2 separate regions of the Homo sapiens genome follow, and region 2 is linked to region 1. The links are contacts of gene promoters, found by promoter capture Hi-C in human tissues and cell types (Jung and others, 2019). All regions are on one chromosome and are shown on one strand. The core of a region is centred on a gene start or on the middle of the fragment in contact, and the rest is flanking DNA. Distances in the headings are between cores, read along the strand shown. Region 1 holds the start of TSKS (testis specific serine kinase substrate). Region 2 overlaps CPT1C (carnitine palmitoyltransferase 1C).

Region 1 (2,536 bases), core at 1-2,500:
GCAGGGGGCCCAGCCAGTGTGAGTTGGCCGCTGAGGTCTTCCACTGTGGAGTCTGTCCCCGTGGAGTCAGTGGGCTCCATGGCGGCCAGGTTGAGCAGTGACACGTTGGTGCAGGCCGAGGACCGTTTGAGGTTCAGGCACCAGTGCATGGGCTGATGGGACATCTGGGGCTCCACCCTGCAGAGAAGAAACAGGCAGAAAAGTGGAGAAGCAGCCCCAGGGTGTCTGGGCCCTCCTGCCTTCCTTTCTCCATACCTCACCCCCTGTGACTCCACCCTCACTGTATATAAGTTTCTCCCTTCTCTGTCCCCGCTGCCTACTTTATTCTCCTTCCCTGTGCTGCCTACTTTCTTTCTTTTTTCTTTCTTTCTTTTTTTTTTTTTTTTGAGACAGAGTCTCACTCTGTTGCCCAGGCTGGAGTGCAGTGGCGCGATCTCAGCTCACTGCAACCTCCGACTGCGGGTCCCAGTTCAAGCAATTCTCCTGCCTCAGCCTCCTGAGTAGCTGGGGTTATAGGCATGTGCCATCACGCCCAGCTAATTTTAGTATTTTTAGTAGAGATGGCTTTTCACCATGTTGGCCAAGCTGGTTTTGAACTCCTGACCTCATGATCCACCTGCCTCGGCCTCCCAAAGTGCTGGGATTACAGGCGTGAGCCACCGTGCCCGACCACCACTGTCTACTTTCTTCTTCTCCTTCCCCGCTGCCTACTTTCTCCTCCCTTCTCTGCCACCTACTTTCTTCTTCATTCACTAGCCTCCCTTCTCCTTCTTCCCTCCCCACTGGCTTTTTCCTCTCTCCATCCATCCCCATTACCTTCTTCCTCCCTCCATCCATCCCCATTACCTTCTTCCTCTCTACCTCCCTGTGACTTGATGTCTCTTCACTGCTGCCCTCTTTCCTGCCCCCGACCTGCTGGCTTTTCCCCCTCCCCTTCCTCTAGCACCCACAGTCGGACTCCTGCTCTGTTGGAGGTAGTGCTGGGCATTAGAACCATCCCTGACAGTGTGCAACAAACCCACCCGTGGAACGACACGGCCTTCTTTTTCTTCGGGATCCCCTTGGCCCGGCTGGTCACCCTCCGGGGAGCCTCTGGGACTAGCTGGGAGCAGCTCTCCACCCCCGTGGGGGTGTCCCCGGCCTCATGGATCTCTTTGGACTGCCAGATCGTCTTCACCACCACGCTCGCCATGGTGTGGGGGTCTGGCTCCCAGGGAGGGGCTCCTTCCTCTGAGACTTCCTACCTACTGTGACCACAGACCCTCAGGATCCACTGTCCCCTCAGCCTGCCTCACAAAGGACCCAACCACTGGGCCCCAGTGAGTGGGGGGCACAGGGTAGGGAGAGATGCTGGCCCAGGTCATTCCCCTAGGGTTCTCAGTGGACTCCTCCTGTTCAGGATTCTAGTTACATGCCCAATGTGCCCCCCGTCTTCAGAGCTCCAGTGGATGGATTCATGCTAGCCTGTAACTTAACAATGGGTCGGCCCACGGATTCTTGGGAGAGGTCCAACTTCCCTCTCCCTGAGACTAAGCGTGGGGTCACACAGCCCTGTGCACTTGTTCTTGATTCTTCATGTAGCTTCCTGGATTTGACAATTGGCTGGGGTTTGAGAGACTGTGGTCGAAGAGGGCTGAGATCCAGACCCTGACCTGGAGGGTCTCATATTCTATGGGGCGTCGGGGTCGGGGGAAAGGCAATATACAGGTAGATCAACAAAAGAAAGCTAGGTGCGGTGGGCCTCGGGGTCAGGGTAGAAGGTGAGGGAGGAGAGGAAGGTAGAGAGTTGGGGCAGGACAGAGGGTGGTATCCCCCTCCCCCGTTTATTTATTTATTATTTTCTTTAATACTTTTTATTTTTTTTGAGACAGAGTCTCTCTCTGTCATGGAGGCTGGAGTTCAGTGGCGCGATCTCAGCTCATTGCAACCTCCACCTCCCGGGGTTCAACCGATTCTCCTGCCTCAGCCTCCCCAGTAGCTGGGACTACAGGCGCTGGCCACAATGTCCGGCTAATTTTTGTATTTTTAGTAGAGACGGGTTTCACCATGTTGGCCAAGTTGGTCTCAAACTCCCGACCTCAAATGGTCCACCCGCCTTAGCCTCCCAAAGTGTGGGATTACAGACATGAGCCACCATGCTCCGCTATAATTTTTTTTTTTTTTTTTTAGATGGAGTCTCGCTCTGACACCCAGGCTGGAGTGCAGTGGCGTGATCTTGGCTCATTGCAACCTCTACCTCCCAGTTTCAAGCGATTCTCCTGCCTCAGCCTCCTGAGTAGCTGGGACTACAGGTACCTGCCACCACACCCATCTAATTTTTTTTTTGTATTTTTAGTAGAGACAGGGTTTCACTGTGTTGGCTAGGCTAGTCTCCAACTCCTGACCTCGTGATCTGCCCACTTCAGCCTCCCAAAGCATTGGAATTACAGGTGTGAGCCACTGCGCCCCGCCCGCCCAAAGTATTTAAAAAATATATGGAACATGTCACAAATTTGCATGTGGTCTTTGCGCAGGGCCCATGCTAATCTTCTCTGTA
Region 2 (2,536 bases), core at 14-2,513, 59 kb before region 1:
CATACCTGGCTAATTTCTTTTTTTTTTTTTTTGTATTTTTGTATTTTTAGTAGAGATGGGGTTTCACCGTGTTAGCCAGGATGGTCTCGACCTCCTGACCTCGTGATCCGCCTGCCTCGGCCTCCCAAAGTGTTGGGATTTACAGGCGTGAGCCACCATGCCCGGCCTCTTTCTTTCTTTCTTTCTCTATCTTTCTCTCTCTCCCCCTCCCTCCCTTTCTGTCTCTCTCTCCTCCCTCCCTCCCTCCCTCCCTCCCTCCCTCCCTTCCTTCCTTCCTTCCTTCCTTCTCTCTTTCTCTCTCTTTCCTTTTTCTTTCTTGGAAGGGGTCTCACTCTGTCACCCAGGCTGTAGTGCAGTGGCGTGATCAAAGCTCACTGCAGCCTTGACCTCCCAGACTCAAGCCATCCTCCCATCTCAGCCTCCTGAGTAGCTGGGACTACAGGCATGTGCCCCTAAGCCTGGCTAATTTTTAAATTTTTTGTAGACATGGGGTCTTGCTATGTTGCACAGACTGGTCTCAAACTCCGAGGCTCAAGCTATCCTCCCACCTCAGCCTCCCAAAATGCTGAGATAAGAGGTGTGAGCCACTGCGCCCAGCCTGTATATTTTATTGTACCTCCAAGCCAACTGCCAGTGACACACGCACCATTTTTTTATGTACAACAACAACAACAAAAAACCCTACAAGAGCAGCTAAACCGTGACACAGTGCTTTCTTTTGTGTTTTTCATTGTTTGAATTTTATCATGGTATTGGCAAGGCCACAATTTTCATGTATTTACACATATGTATATTATTTCACATATTTATTGTTTTATAAATTTTACATTTATGTTCTGTTTTTCTTTTTTGGGGGGGACGGAGTTTCACTCTTGTTGCCCAGGCTGGAGTGCAATGGTGCGATCTCAGCTCCTTGCAACCTCTGCCTCCCCGACTCAAGCGATTCTCCTGCCTCAGGCTACCGAGTAGCCGGGATTACAGGCGTGCACCACCACGTGTGGCTAATGTTTGTATTTTTAGTAGAGACAGGGTTTCATCATGTTGGCCAGGCTGGTCTTGAACACCTGACCTCAGGTGATCCACCCGCTTAGCCTCCCAAAGTGCTGGGATTACAGGCGGGAGCCACCGTGCCCAGCTGTACCTTGTTATTTCCACCAGCTATGTAATATTCCACTGCCGGAGTATAACAGGGTTTAGCTAACTGATCCCCCATGGATGGATTTCTAGGTGATCGCTAGTTACTGACTACGATGGCTGACTTCTTTGGCTCTATCCTCCCTGCCTGACGCAGGAGCATCTGGGGCCTTCCCTGTCCTACTGTCCCTCCCCCAACAGGCCCCAGCCCCTCACTGTGTGTCTCCCCACCCCGCTCCCAGGTCAGTGACTGGTGGGAGGAATTTGTGTACCTGCGCTCCCGAAATCCGCTGATGGTGAACAGCAACTATTACATGATGGTGAGAAGGGGAGGGGTGAGGTTCATAGGCCCCAGGTCTAGGGTTGGGGGGTACCTGGGCGGAATGTGACGGTCATGCTCAGTGACCTGGATCTAGACGCGCCATCTGGGATTCATCATTCCACCCTCTTTTGGGGTCAGGACCTGTATTTGGGTCAGTGGCTCCATCGGGGGCAAACCTGACCCTGGGTGTTTTGCCATCCCCTCTCCTGGTCCCCAGGACTTCCTGTATGTCACACCCACGCCTCTGCAGGCAGCTCGCGCTGGGAATGCCGTCCATGCCCTCCTCCTGTACCGCCACCGCCTGAACCGCCAGGAGATACCCCCGGTGAGAGGGCCCCAGTGGGTTAGGGATGGAGGTGTGGTCCTGTGGCCTTTGGGCCACGTGGGTCCTGGAAGGCAGCTCACAGCCCACGGTTTCCTGCAGACTTTGCTGATGGGAATGCGCCCCTTATGCTCTGCCCAGTACGAGAAGATCTTCAACACCACGCGGATTCCAGGGGTCCAAAAAGGTGAGACCCTCTCCTGTCCCCACTGATGGAGGCAGAACAATATAGTGGCTAAGAGCATGTTTTCTGGAGTCCGCCTGACTGAGCTGGGAACCATTGCTTCCTTGCTGTGTGACCTTCTGCACGTTATTACCCTCTCTGAGCCTCAGCTTCCACTAAAGTGGGATAATAATTGTACCTAGGGGCTGGGCGCAGTGACTGATGCCTGTAATCCCAGCACTTTGTGGGGCCGAGGTGGACAATTGCTTAGGCCAGGAGTTCGAGACCAGCCTAGGGCAACGTAGTGAGATCCGGTCTATATACAAAATTTAAAAATTAGCCAGGCATGGTGATATGCACCTGTGGCCCCAGTTAATCGGGAGCCTGAAGTGGAAGGATCACCTGAGCCCCGGAGGTTGAGGCTGCAGTGAGCTGAGATCTCACCACTGCACTCCAGCCTGGCGACAGAGCGAGACCTTGTCTCCAAATACTAAGTAAATAAAAGTCCTAGGGTGCTGATGATTACTAGGGTACTTTGAACAACTGACGACACCTAAGAAGTATATAATAAATGGTCACTATTTTTATGTGTCTG

Evidence for each region. Contacts are between HindIII fragments. The study calls those that stand out against the background at their distance.
Region 2: a contact is called between a fragment that was not itself captured here and the fragment with the promoter of TSKS in region 1, in 1 of the 25 tissues and cell types used here (pancreas).

What each region holds. Positions count from the first base shown.
Region 1 is chr19:49,762,056-49,764,591 of GRCh38, forward strand. TSKS (testis specific serine kinase substrate) reads right to left here and starts at 1,251. Exons shown (of 11, transcript NM_021733.2): 1 at 1,023-1,251; 2 at 1-177. The coding sequence starts at 1,192. It also overlaps the pseudogene RNU6-841P. RefSeq lists an enhancer at 1-4. The HindIII fragment of the contact is 39,317 bases long and covers 1-2,536 here.
Region 2 is chr19:49,703,334-49,705,869 of GRCh38, forward strand. It overlaps CPT1C (carnitine palmitoyltransferase 1C), which reads left to right. Exons shown (of 20, transcript NM_001199753.2): 8 at 1,377-1,454; 9 at 1,674-1,781; 10 at 1,881-1,965. Among named protein-coding and RNA genes, the nearest start is that of CPT1C, 13 kb to the left of the region's middle. The HindIII fragment of the contact is 9,065 bases long and covers 1-2,536 here.